5 separate regions of the Homo sapiens genome follow, and regions 1, 3, 4 and 5 are each linked to region 2. The links are contacts of gene promoters, found by promoter capture Hi-C in blood cells and fetal thymus (Javierre and others, 2016). All regions are on one chromosome and are shown on one strand. Each heading gives the region's core, a stretch centred on a gene start or on the middle of the fragment in contact. The rest is flanking DNA. Distances are from core to core; before and after follow the strand shown.

Region 1 (2,700 bases), core at 188-2,687, 530 kb after region 2:
GAAGACTCCATCTCAAAATAGAAAAAAAATACATACCGATCTATGATAAAAGTTTAAATTATAAATTAGGTACAGTAAGAGATTAACAATAATAATGAAATAGAACAATTATAATACTATACTATCATAAACGGTATGTAAATGTGGTCTCTCTCTGTCTCAGAATATCTCAGTGTACTGTACTCATCTATTTTTGGCCATGATCAACCCAAACTTCAGAAAGCAAAACCTTGGATAAGGGGATGACTGTAGTCCAGCTCTGCTTTATTCATATTGAAGATGAGGTTTTGGATTACAATATCCTCCAGTGGGATTCACCCTTTGTTGCTGCGAAATGGCCTTTTAAAGTGTTTAACCTTCTTGCTTTAAATATAGCACTCCTGACATCACCATAGCTATACCAGCTGTCTTCTGCTGTTTCCATAGCATATGCTTTTCCACTATTTTACTTCCTACTTCTCTATGACTTCATTTAACGTTCACCTCATATAAGCAGTATTCAGTTAAGTTTTTAAAAAATAGGCCCATATGGGCTGGGCACAGTGGCTCACACCTGCAATCCCAGCACTTTGGGGGGCCAAGGCAGGCGGATTACCTGAGGTCAGTAGTTCGAGACCAGCCTGGCCAACATGGTGAAACCCCGTCTCTACTAAAAATAAAAAAAAATTACCCAGGCATGGTGGTGGGTGCCTGTAATCCCAGCTACTCAGGAGGCTGAGGCAGGAGAATCACCTGTACCTGGGAGGCGGGGTTTGCAGTGAGCCGAGATTGTGCCATTGCACTTCAGCCTGGGCAAGAAGAGCGAAACCCCATCTCAGAAAAATAAAATTAAAAAAATGCCCGTATGACAGTCTTTGCCTTTGGGTTAGATCCATTATCTTCCTCCACTGTTTGCTTTCTTGCTCAGAAGGCCAATAAGTGATAGGGGTGGTGACTAGAGTAGTTTAGCTGCCCAGCAGCCAAGCCCACCCCCACTTTATCCACCAGATCAACACTCACCATTTATCTCTCTGCGGACTACAACACACATTTTATCACAGTTCATAATGGCAAAGATGTTCGAAGTCACATCCCAAGCGCGTCGTCCAGGGAAACGCTCTATCAAGAGATGAACCACCTCTGCCCAGCTGGCTGTCTCGACCTGGTCCCAGGTGATGGGCATGGTGCCAGTACTGAGCTCAGTCAGTAAGAGCTGCTTGAACCGTTGTAGCTCCTCATGGCTCACGTTTCTCATGTACAGCATGACCCCATTTTCACATGGGGAGCCGGGGTAGCAAGAGAATGTCCAGGGCGGAATATGAGAACTGTGAGTGGAGGAGGATGAAAAGGGAATGGGGGTGTCAGAGGGTGGATTCACGTCACTCATCTTTAGTCAAGGCAGAGAACACCTCAGTGTCCACGATAAAGACAACCGATTGGAAGAGAGAAACACGAGACCTGCAGAGACATAAAACAATAAAACAAGAAGATGAAAACACTACCCAAGAAAACAGATTCGTGTAATGCTTACTTGGCAGGTATTCTGCGTGCCGGGTACTCCCTTTACCTCCTTTCCTCAAAGATTCTCTGCCCTATGGAAAAACTGAAGATGCATGGAATGTTTGGGATTAGTCCATTAGACTAATGGATTGTTTGTAGTTTCTATTCTCCATGACTTCTTTTGGGGAAGAGGCAAGCAAAATATCAAAGCCTTCACAAAAGGTTTAGCGAAAAGAAAAATTAGAAGCAGGTAAAATAATTCAGTGAAGCTAAAATCTAGAAAATATATGGTTGGTTAGAAGGCTCCATTAGATTAAAAGTGATCTCAAATTCAACAAAGTTTTTATTCTTAAAAAAATGGATCATGTATTAGAGAGATGCAAATCAAAACCACAACGAGATGTCATCTCACACCAGTCAGAATGGTGATTATTAAAAAGTCAAGCAATAACAGATGCTGTATTCTTAAAAAATGGATCATGTATTAGAGAGATGCAAATCAAAACCACAACGAGATGTCATCTCACACCAGTCAGAATGGTGATTATTAAAAAGTCAAGCAATAACAGATGCTGGTGAAGTCGCAGAGAAAAAGGAACACTTATACTCTGTGTGTGGGAGTGTAAATTAGTTCAACTACTCTGGATGACAGTGGGGCAACTCCTCAAAGACCTAAAAAGAGAACTACCATTCAACTCAGCAATCCCATTACTGGATATATATCCAAAGGAATATAAATCATTCTATTATAAAGACACATTCCTGTGTATGTTCATTGCAGCACTACTCACAATAGCAAAGTCATGGAATCAACCTAAATGCCCATCAGTGATAGACCGGATAAAAAAATGTGGTACATAAACACCATGGAATACTATGCAGCCATAAAAAAGAATGAGATCATGACCTTTGCAGGAACATAGATGGAGCCAGAGACCATTATTCCTTAGCAAACTAACACAGGAACAGGAAACCAAATACCACATGTGCTCATTTATAAGTGGTAGCTAAACGATGAGAACACATGGACACATAGAGGGAACACCACACACTGGAGTCTGCTAGAGGCTGGAGGGTGGGAGGAGGGAGAAGATCAGGAAAAATAACTAATGGGTACTGGGATTAATACCTGGGTGATGAGATAACCTGTACAACAAACCCACCCCCATAACACGTTTGCCTATATAACAAACCTGCACATGTACCCCTGTATCTAAAAGA
Region 2 (2,700 bases), core at 11-2,510:
AGGCTTTGTGGGGCCACACAGTACCTGTTCCCACCTACTCAACTCTGCCCTTCCGCAGAAGTGGATGCAGAAGCTAAACAAATGTCCAGAACATACACACATATTCAAAATCAGTGCCCCCCGCCACGTACAAAACCACAAAAATCGCCTCAGAGACACACGTATAAGAAAACACAAAGGTTCGTCCTCACACATGTTCAGGGTAACACAATGTGGGTCTCACCTACACAAACGCGCGATCAAAACCCGGGACCCGCACGCCCAGATGACCGGGACGAGGCCATACTTCACATCTTCTCTCACAGACTCACAATTACGCAACGGTCACCTCAAACGACTTTATGGCGGACACTCCCGGACCTTCCGCTGTCCGCCCCTCCTCGTCCCTTCTCCCCGCCGGGGTGAGCCTCATCCACCCAGTCTCAACCCCGACGCAGTCAGTCTCACTGCCAGCCCGCCGGCTACGCAGGCGCAACACCGCATGGAACAGCCCCCAGGGCGTGCAGGGGCCGTTGGGAAATGTAGTCCGAGCGCCACGCAAAGGACTGTGGGCCTCTTCGCAAAACGTGCAGGTGAGTCCCCACTGTTGGCCAAAAGAAACATCCCTCCGCTGCTCTCCCGGGTCAGTTCATCTCCGACCCGGACAGAGCAGAACCAGCGCAGCCCAAGCCTTCTTCACCTCACGTTCTGGGTGGGACTTTCCACAGCCTCGCTGCACCCCGGTGGATTCTGGAGGTCGCAGGATGACTGCGTAGTGCGCACGCGCGGGTGGGCGGTGTCCGCCTCCGCGGGTGAGGCCGGCTCCAAACCTCGTGAATGTGGGGGCGAAGGACGCTGGCTGGCTGGAGGCAATAAGCCCTCACACGGGAACGTGTGGTTGTGGGAGCGGGGAAGGCGGCGAATTGGGGAGGTTGGGTTTGGTTAAAGAGCTCGAGGAAGGGCCTCAGTGTCCACACGTGATCTCCTGAGAGGATGAAAAGCAGGGCCAGGCGCCAGTCCCCTAGGAGACCGGTGTGCGTGCCAGCCTCGGGGGTGTGCGCAGGCGCGGGACCTCGCGCGTCCGCCTGCACCAATCGTGCGAACGCGCTTGTGCGTGTGGCGCTGAGGGGTCGGGGCCTCAGGCCGGGGCTGGTGGTACTGTCCCCGAGAGGCGGGTGAGCGCACGCCGCGTGGCCTTGTTTGGGGGCGGGGCCACGCGCCCGCATGCGTGGTGCGTGTGTGAAGGGGGGTGCAGCGCGCGGTCCCGGGGTCCCGGAGGGGAGTGCGCAGGCGCTGAGTCCCTGCTCGGCTGTCTCGGTGGTCGCCGCCGGGGTCTGAGCCCGGGAAGACCGAGGTAAGGGGGCTGGCGAGAGTGTGGGTGTGTCTGAGGGCGTGGGCGGCGCGCCCGCCACTGCGTGGACGTTCCTGCCAAGGCGCGCGTGGGTTTGCGCATCCACGATGGCGTGGGCGTCTGCGCGGGTGCTTGCGTGGGCGGTGGGCTCGCGCCTGCGTGGGTTCTCGGCCCGCCACGGCGTGGGGTTTGCGCCCTTCGCTGCTGTGGTTCTCGGGGCTTGTGCGCCCAAGTGTGAAGTTGGCGCCGCGTGTGAGGCGAGCCGTGTGTGCCTGTGTGTGAGGGAGCTATGTCGGGACCGCGGATGTGTATCGCTGCGTGACCCACGCGAAGGAAACAATGGAGCCATTGGGAAGCCGGGAGTGGGTGTGTGACGCTGACTGTGAAGATTTGTGTTTCTGGAGTGTGTGCGTGTGTCAGTGTCAGGCTGATGTGGGCGTTTATTGTAGCCTTGGGTTACTGTGTGACTTGCCTGGGCGTCTGTCTGCCACTTAGCGTCAGTGGCTTTGCGGTTATGAGTGTGTGACTGTGCCTTTCTGGTGTATATCTCACTGTAACCATGGAAATGGAGGCCCACAGGGGAAGAATTCTTAGCAGCTCTAAGATGTGATGGGCTGCCCTGGAAATCTGTGGAACTGTTTAATTGTGCATGACTTTCCTCCTTGGTAAAATAGCATATTAATAGCACCTGCCTGGGTGTTATTGGGAAGATTAAATGGGATGACGTAGCTGAAACACCCTGCACAGAGCTTGTCACATACTAATCACCGTGTTTAGGTGTTGGTTATGGTGCTGGTGGTCGTTTTTCTTTGACCCTATACAGAGGCAGAGGTAGTGGTGAATACTGGAGGACTTTGCATCTCTGAGCTTCGGACTGGGCTATCTTTGTCCACATACCAGGGCATCTGACCATCTCCAGTTGAGCAGTGGTGCGCTGCCCCCGCCAACCACCTGCGTCGTCAGTTTTCTGCATGTGTACATTTGAGTGGAGGACAGAGCCCTCCACTGACGCTAAGTATGGTTGTGTCCCCTTCCTACCAAGGTAGCTTGGAAAAATAAGAGCATGGACTGTGGCGCCCCGCTGTCTGGTGTTGACTCCTGGTTTCACCACTGGCTGGCTGTGTGACTGAGAGAGCTTACTTAAGTCCACCACTCCTCGGTTCACTTGTAAAACAGTAGTAATAACAGAACCAACCTCAGGTTTATGGTGAGCATAAGTAGAACTTGGCACAAGGAAGTGCCACATCAATGATCATCGTTTTATTATTAGCATAATAACCGCAGGCGTCCCACACCTGGAGAATAAAATCCATAGGTAGAAATGCAAAAGGATGAGCCCCAGAGTAAGGGTTGCAGGTCCAGAGGTAAAA
Region 3 (2,700 bases), core at 113-2,612, 660 kb before region 2:
CAGTTTAGATGTAGCTGGAAGAATTAGGGGGCTATTGGCTTATTCTACTTATTTATGTATTTATTTATTTGAGATGGAGTCTCACTGTCACCCAGGCTGGAGTGCAGTGGTGTGATCTCAGCTCACTGCAACCTCCACCTCCCAGGGTTCAAGCGATTCTCCTGCCTCAGCCTCCTGAGTAGCTGGGATTACAGGCGCGCACCACGACACCTGGCTAATTTTTGTATTTTTAGTAGAGATGGGGTTTCACCATGTTGACGAGGCTGGTCTCGAACTCCTGACCCCGGGTGATCCACCTGTCTCAGCCTCCTGAAGTGCTGGGATTATAGGTGTGAGCCACCATGCCAGGCCTCTATTTAAAAAAGAATTTCTAATAGAGGCAGGATGTCTTAAAGAAAAATGGAAAATAGAAAAAAAATATAATAACATTTTCTTTTCTTTTCTTTTTCTTTTTCTTTTTTTTCTTGAGACAGAGTTTTGCTCTTGTTGCCCTGGCTGGAGTGCAGTGGCGCAATCTTGGCTCACTGCAGCCTCCACCTCCTGGGTTCAAGTGATTCTCCTGCCTCAGCCTCCTGAGTAGCTGGGATTACAGGCGCCTGCCACCATGCCTGGCTAATTTTTTGTATTTTTAGTAGAGATGGGGTTTCTTCATGTTGGCCAGACTGGTCTCGAACTCCTGACCTCAGGTGATCCACCCGCCTCGGCCTCCCAAAGTGCAGGGATTACAGGTGTGAGCCACCGTGCCCGGCCAAAATAATAAAATGTTCTTTGAGATAGGGGTTTTGCTATGTTCCCCAGCTAGCCTCAAACTCCTGGCCTCAAGCAATCCTCCTGCCTCGGCCTCCCAAAATGTTGGGATGATAGGTGTGAGCCACCATACTCGGCCTCTGCCTTACTCTAAGTAAAAGATGACAAGGTGGATTTATGAATGGTGGAGAAGATGGAAACTAATGGCTGGGTTTGAGATTCAGGAAGTAAAATTGGTGGGACTAGAGGGTGGAGAAAGATGGCAGTGTCATGAGTAGGTCTAAGGTTTATGGCTCATTGGCAAGATCCTCTGGGCACAATTTATTTTCATCCAGAGTAGAGTGAATTATGGACATGATTAAAGCTTGGTTCAGCAGAAACAAGTTTCTGTATCCTCAGCCGCAGGATTCAATGGCATTTTTATACTGATCGGGAATCTGTTGTTACAGGGAAGAGTGACCTTCGAGGATGTCACTGTGAACTTCACCCAGGGGGAGTGGCAGCGGCTGAATCCCGAACAGAGAAACTTGTACAGGGATGTGATGCTGGAGAATTACAGCAACCTTGTCTCTGTGGGTAAGGACGGCTTCCCGGGCAGGGGGACTCAAAACCTAAGGCGTGAAACACACAGACACCCCATGGCTGGCCAAATAGGGTTGGCACAGAGGTGCTCCTCACTTCGCATATGTTTTTGTAGAGCCGGGACTAGGGTGAGGCAAGTGAAGTGTACCAAGTGCTGTATTGAAGGAGCCCCCATTCTCAGGGTCGGCAAGTGCCGGGAGAATGAGTGAGGGCCTCTGTAAGTTTTGTGGGCTGGGTGCCCTGCCCTTCACCCTACTCCTGGTCTTGATTTTTGGAAAAGCTTTATCCTCCAAGAAGAAAAAGCATTTCTTTCTTTCCCTTCCTTCCCTCCCTCCCTCCCTCCCTCCCTCCCTGCCTCCTTCCCTTCCTCCCTTCCTACCTCCCTTCTTTCCTTCCTTCCTTCCTTCCTTCTTTCCTTCCTTCCTTCCTTCTTTCCTTCCTTCTTTCCTTCCTTCCTTCCTTCTTTCCTTCCTTCCTTCCTTCTTTCCTTCCTTCTTTCCTTCCTTCCTTCCTTCTTTCCTTCCTTCCTTCCTTCCTTCCTTCTTTCCTTCCTTCCTTCCTTCTTTCCTTCCTTCTTTCCTTCCTTCCTTCCTTCTTTCCTTCCTTCCTTCCTTCCTTCCTTCCTTTCTCCCTCCCTCCCTCTCTCCATTCCTCTCTCTTTCTTTATCTCCTTTCTCCTAACAGGGTCTGGCTGTGTCACCGAGGCTGGAGTGCAGTGGTGCAATCATAGCTCACTGTAGTATTTTTTTTTTTTGGAGACAGTCTCGCTCTGTCACCCAGGCTGGAGTGCAGTGGTGTGATCTCGGCTCACTGCAACCTCCGCCTCCCAGGTTCCAGTGATTTTCCTGCCTTAGCCTCCCGAGTAGCTGGGATTACAGACGTGCACCACCATGCCTGGCTAATTTTTGTATTTTTTGCACAGATGGGGTTTCTCCATGTTGGTGAGGCTAGTCTTGAACTCCTGACCTCAGATAACCGGCCCGCCTCAGCCTCCCAAAGTTCTGGTATTACAGGCATGAACCACCACGCCTGGCGTCACTGCAACATTGACCTGGGCTCAAGCCATCCTCCCACCTCAGCCTCCTGAATAGCTGGGACCACAGACGTGCACCACCACACGTGGCTTTGGTTTTGTAGAGACTGGGTCTTGCTATCTTCATGTTACATGTAACATGTTGGTCTCAAATTCCTGTGCTCTAGCAATTCTCCTATCTCGGCCTCCCAAAGTGCTGGGATTACAGGCATGAGCCGCCACACCCAGCCCAGAAAAAGCATTCTTTGTTTAGTTCGACTGCTCAGGTGCATTCCCTCAAACCATCCATCCACACAACTCCCCCCAACCAATGGCACATACCCACACACTGACATATA
Region 4 (2,700 bases), core at 122-2,621, 620 kb before region 2:
GAAAAGTTCTGCCAGGGAACCCAAGACATTAAATTCCCCTGTTGACTGGGGCGAGGGACTTTAAGCTGTTCCCTTTACACCACAGGCTCCAAAAGGGAGTAGTCTGAAGCCTGGACACACTTATCCACAGACTCATTTGATTTGGTCAGCATGGTCTTTAGGAAGGAATAAATACATGACCTTCTTAAACATAAAATTTGGAAGATTTCACTTAAAGGAATCCAGATTTCTGGGTTTTGTGACCCATGTTCCTATGCGGCAGCCACAGGTTGGAGCAGAAGAGCAGGGAGCCCCTTTATTTATTTATTTATTTATTTTTATTTTATTAATTTTTTATTTTTTTGAGACGGAATCTCGCTCTGTCGCCCAGGCTGGAGTGCAGTGGGGCGATCTTGGCTCACCGCAACCTCCGCCTCCCAGGTTCAAGCGACTCTCCAGCCTCAGCCTCCAGAGTAGCTGGGATTACAGGCATGAACCACTACACCCGGCTACTTTTTGTATTTTTAGTAGAGACGGGGTTTCACCATGTTGGCCAGGATGGTCTTGAACTCCTGACCTCAGGTGATCCACCCGCCTCAGCCTCCCAAAGTGCTGGGATGGCAGGTGTGAGCCACTGCGCCCGGCCAGGGAGCCCCTTTAGATGGGATGGGGAGGGACCTCCGATCAGGGCTGCCCACTCACTCCTCCTCCCTCTGCTTCCCTTCCCTCTTCCATCTCCCTCCCCCATCCCCCCCATCCTTCATTCATCTACCTGAGGTGCCTGACCCTGGTAGACAAGGAAGATATTAAAAATGTTTAACAAGGGTGGGGCAGTAGCCAATCCTGATGAAGCCCTGACCAATGATACACGAGCCCCAGCTGGGAGCTATTGGTACCATCTGTAGCTCCTGTGGACATTGACATTTAAATTGATTTAACCTTTTTTTTATTTTTTATTTTTTGAGACGAAGGCTCACTCTGCCACCCAGGCTGGAGATCTCGGCTCACTGCAACCTCTGCTTCCCAGGTTCAAGCGATTCTCCTGCCTCAGCCTCCCAAGTAGCTGGGGTTACAGGCGCACACCACCATGCCCGGCAAATTTTTGTATTTTTAGTAGAGATGGTGTTTCACCATGTTGGCCAGGCTGGTCTTGAACTCCTGGCCTCAAGTGATACACCCTCCCTCGACTTCCCAAAGTGCTGGGATTACGGTCCTGAGCCACCGCGTCCGGCCAGACTTATAATTTTAAAAAGGAAAAACCAGGGGCACCCCACCGCCTGGGGATCGAGGGGAGCCCAGCATAGGGAGGGAGAGGGAGCCAGGGTTATAACGTCCACATTCATACAACCTCAGCCTTGACCACTACGTGCGGATCATGGCGGTAGCGACCCGGCAGGAAACACAGCGAGCGAGCTGATTTGTGATCATGGTCGGTGCTCCGAAGAACAGACAACGAGGCGTGGAGCGCGTGCCGGGTGCGATCCTGGAAGGCTCCTCAGAGGAGGTGACATCTCGCTGGGCCTGGCGGCCCTGACGTCCAGCGGCGATGGCGGTCCATGGCCACCAGGTGGCGCCGCGAGAACGTGGCTGAAGCAGCTAGGCCGCGTTCCTGCGATCTGACTGTGCAGAGAGCTGTGGCTCCAGGTTTATCTCAAAGCATTTTTCTCAGCAGATGAACTTAGGGAGGGAGGCAGGAGAGCAAATTCCCCTCACTGCCCATGTGTCAGTTTTATTGTACCTTAACGGTAGTCAGTGCTGCAGCAGCCGAGAGCCCGGGCCCCCAAATTTGGGTTTACGGGCTGGCTCCAACCCAAACCAGCGTGTGTGTCCCTGCCATGGGCGTTTTATGTATTTATTATGTATTTGTTTTTCTATTGAGACAGGGTCTCACTCTGTGGCTCAGGCTGGAGTACAGTGGCGCTGTCTTGGCTCACTGCAGCCTCCCCAGCTTGAGCAATCCTCCTGCCTCAGCCTCCCGAGTAGCTGGGACTACAGGCCTGCACCACCACACCCAGCTAATTTTTGTATTTTTTGTAGAGAAGGGTTTTTGCCATGATGCCCAGGCTGGTCTTGAACTCCTGGGCTCAAGTGATCTGCTCACCTCTGCCTCCCAAAATGCTGGGATTATAGATAGGCATGAGCCACCACACTTGGCAATTATTTATTTATTTTTATTTTTACGGTTTTTTAGAGTCAGGGTCTCACTCGTTGCCGAGTCTGGAGTGCAGTGGCAAAATCTTGGCTCACTGCAACCTCTGCCTCTTGGGTTCAAGCAATTATCATGCCTCAGTCTCCTGAGTAGCTGTGACTACAGGTGCTCACCACCACGCCTGGCTAATTTTTGTATTTTTTAGTAGAGATGGGGTTTCACCATGTTGGCCAGGCTGGTCTCGAACTCCTGACCTCAAGTGATCCACCTGCCTCAGCCTCCAAAAGTGCTGGTATTACAGGTGTTAGCCACCGTGCCTGGCCAGTTCACTAATATTGAGATAAATCATACTCGTGTAAGACGCTACTAACAGGGGAAGCTGGGTGCAGGAACAAGGAAAACTTTCTATTCTCTTTGCAACTTTTCGCCAAATCTAAGTCGATTCTAAAATAAAAGTTGATTCTTTTTTATTGTTTATCTGAAATCCATATTTAACCAGGCAATTTGTATTTTTATTTATTAAATTGGGCAACCCCAGTGCAGAGCTAAGGGAGACAGGTGGATTCTCTAAC
Region 5 (2,700 bases), core at 39-2,538, 580 kb before region 2:
TTATATAGGTACCACATTTTCTTTATCTAGTCTACCATTGATGGGCATTTACATGGATTCCATGTCTTTGCTGTTGTGAATAGTGCTGCAATAAACATACGCATGGGGCTTTTAGGAACAGATTTCCGTCGATCTCTTCCCAGTTCTTTGTCTAGGTTGCCATTCACCTTCACGCCTCCTCCACCCTCAGATTACTCTGTATCTTGTCAGAAATGCACACATGAGGCATTTGACAGCACAGACTCACTCTCCAACCCTGCCAAGAGAGTTGCTCTTTCAGGACCTCCATTTCTCCACTTTGGACAGGGGATAAGAATGATTCCCACCTCCCAGGCTCCCCCAAAGGTTAAAGTAGGAAATGGGGTTACCATGCTCGGCATGTGGCTGGGAGTTGTGTGTCTTAGAGTGTGTGTGAATGTGAGTCGGTGAGAGGTGATCCTAATTACTGAATGGGATTTAATCATCCCTTGCTCTTGTGTAGCAGAAATCTTAGTCTAATTCAGGGTTCTATGCTGTTAGAGGCTGCTATGACCTCAATGGTGCTCCTTGACCAAAATTTACATTGAAGCTCTAACCCCCAATGTGACTGTATTTGGAGACAGTGCTTTTAGAGAGGTAATTAAGATTATATAAGCTTCATAAGGGTGGGCTTTTAAGTCAATATAACCGGTATCTTCATAAGAAAAGGGACACCAGTTCAGGTCTCTTCCCCTACCCCACCACCTCTGCCATGTGAGGACACAGCAAGAAGGTGGCCATCTGCAAGCCAGGAAGAGAGTCCTCACCAGGAACAGAATTTGCCAGCACCATGATTTTGGACTTGCAGCCTCCAGAACTGTAAGAAAATACATTTTTGTTGTTTAAGCCACTCAGTCTGTGTGATTTTGTTATGGCAGCTGGAGCTAATGAACACAGGACCTAGGCTCCTTCTGTCTTGTTATTCTGAATTCTTCACCAGGTGGCTTCTACCTCACTGTCTAGAGAGCTGGCTGAATTCAGGCAGCATTTCTGCCTTCTAGCTAAGAGGAAGAGAGGTGAGGCAAAGAAAGATTCCACCCCCAATATTCCCTTTAAGGCTTCTCTTAGTCCACACTCCATACATGTGCTTTCATCCTATTGGCCAGACCTTGGTTGCATGGCCACATCTAGCTACAAGTGGTGCAGATATTTGGCCCAATCCGAACACAAGCTTGAATGGGAAATTATAGATAGGCTCTATACGTCATAAAGAGCTGTTAGTTTGGGAATTTCTAGGTGAAGGCTCCTTTAGGTGGTTGACCTCAAATATATTACTGGTGATTTCTGAGATGTCATATTTATCACTCGTAATTCAAAGATGGGTGCTTACAATAAAACGATTCTAGGTGGGAAAATGCCTGTAAGCTTTGCTTACCACGGAAGGAAGCTCTTAGATAAAGGGACCAAAGACATAATTATAGGCTTTATGAATATTTTATGCTCTTCCCAAGAAACCAGTAGATTTTTGCAGCTCTGAGTATACTGAGAATTAAGCAAAATTTTTCATTTTCAATTCTCTCTTTCTTTTAAATGTGCTTCAGAATAAGAATTAAGTATGCTTAAAAAAAAACTTTTTCCAGAGGGCAGCAGGGTTTAGAATAGCAGAGTGACATGGTCAGATTTGCAATTTAGAAAGTTTACTTGACATTTAATGGGAGAAGTGATCAGTGGGATAGATGTTACCTGTCTGTTCACTTTTCAGAAATTTTGCCCCATCTGTGTTAAGAACTAGGCCATGAGGTGCTATTTACCGTTGTTCTATAACATAAACTTTTATTTTTATTTATTTGTTTATTTATTTGAGACAAAGTCTTAGTCTATTGCCCAGGTTGGAGTGCAGTGGTGTGATCTCAGCTCACTGCAACCTCCGCCTCTCGGGTTCAGGTGATTCTCCTGCCTCAGTCTCCTGAGTAGCTGGAACTACAAGTGTGTGCCACCAGGCCCACCTAATTTTTGTATTTTTGGTAGAGACAGGGTTTCACCATGTTGGCCAGGCTGGTCTTGACCTCAAATGATCCGCCTGCCTCGGCCTCCCGAAGTGCTGGGATTACAGGCATGAGCCACTGCACTTGGCCTATAACATTAACTTTAAACACCCGAGTGAGAATCATTTTAAAGTTTTGATATCATGAATATGCATGGAAAGCCAGCGTCACCTCCCTTAAGTGGAAGACAGAGTAAAAGAAAGAACAATGATAAAAAACAGCAACAGCAACAACAACAACATGCACAAGTGTGCCTAAACCAGTGGTTCTCAAACAGGGGTGGCTTTGTCTACTTGGGGACATCTGGAAGTGTCTGGAGATGTCTTTAGTTGTCACACGTGGGGAAGAGGGCCTTGCTCCTGCCATCCAGGGGGTAGAGACCAGGGGTGCTGCTTATCAGCTTACAGTGCAGAAGACAGCCCTCCTGCCCACCCACCAAACAATTATTCAGCCCAAAATGTCCACAGTGCTGAGACTGGAAACCCTGGGTTAGATGCCATCGCCTGCCAATGATCTGAGCAAAGCTCTCCTTTGTTTAAAAAGTAATTAGCAAGTGTGACGGAAATGTTGAAGGCACACCAGCACCTACGAGGAACGTCTCTTTGAATGAACTAGAAAGACTTGGCAAGCGAATAACATTATCATGGTGAGACTCAGTTATCTTTAGCACCGAAGCATCTGATATGGCATTCCCACA

Evidence for each region. The method cuts DNA at HindIII sites, captures the fragments that hold promoters and counts their contacts. A CHiCAGO score of 5 or more calls a contact.
Region 1: the fragment with the promoter of NLRP8 here is called in contact with the fragment with the promoter of ZNF667 in region 2 in 6 of 17 cell types (naive CD8 T cells, monocytes, M0 macrophages and 3 more); the score reaches 8.9 in naive CD8 T cells.
Region 3: a contact is called between a fragment that was not itself captured here and the fragment with the promoter of ZNF667 in region 2, in 1 of 17 cell types (naive CD4 T cells). The highest score is 5.3, in naive CD4 T cells.
Region 4: a contact is called between a fragment that was not itself captured here and the fragment with the promoter of ZNF667 in region 2, in 1 of 17 cell types (non-activated CD4 T cells). The highest score is 5.5, in non-activated CD4 T cells.
Region 5: a fragment that was not itself captured here is called in contact with the fragment with the promoter of ZNF667 in region 2 in 4 of 17 cell types (total CD8 T cells, activated CD4 T cells, naive CD4 T cells and 1 more); the score reaches 5.9 in total CD8 T cells.

What each region holds. Positions count from the first base shown.
Region 1 is chr19:55,946,569-55,949,268 of GRCh38, reverse strand. It overlaps NLRP8 (NLR family pyrin domain containing 8), which reads right to left and starts at 1,437. Exons shown (of 10, transcript NM_001433706.1): 1 at 1,000-1,437. The coding sequence starts at 1,366. The HindIII fragment of the contact is 8,931 bases long and covers 1-2,700 here.
Region 2 is chr19:56,475,905-56,478,604 of GRCh38, reverse strand. ZNF667 (zinc finger protein 667) reads left to right here and starts at 1,260. Exons shown (of 7, transcript NM_001321356.2): 1 at 1,260-1,333. It overlaps ZNF667-AS1 (ZNF667 antisense RNA 1), which reads right to left and starts at 731. Exons shown (of 2, transcript NR_036521.1): 1 at 224-731. The HindIII fragment of the contact is 7,484 bases long and covers 1-2,700 here.
Region 3 is chr19:57,137,095-57,139,794 of GRCh38, reverse strand. ZIM3 (zinc finger imprinted 3) reads left to right here. Exons shown (of 5, transcript NM_052882.1): 3 at 1,197-1,323. Among named protein-coding and RNA genes, the nearest start is that of ZIM3, 6.8 kb to the left of the region's middle. The HindIII fragment of the contact is 498 bases long and covers 1,114-1,611 here.
Region 4 is chr19:57,098,214-57,100,913 of GRCh38, reverse strand. No RefSeq gene overlaps it. Among named protein-coding and RNA genes, the nearest start is that of USP29, 20 kb to the left of the region's middle. The HindIII fragment of the contact is 7,444 bases long and covers 1-2,700 here.
Region 5 is chr19:57,053,640-57,056,339 of GRCh38, reverse strand. No RefSeq gene overlaps it. Among named protein-coding and RNA genes, the nearest start is that of USP29, 65 kb to the left of the region's middle. The HindIII fragment of the contact is 194 bases long and covers 1,192-1,385 here.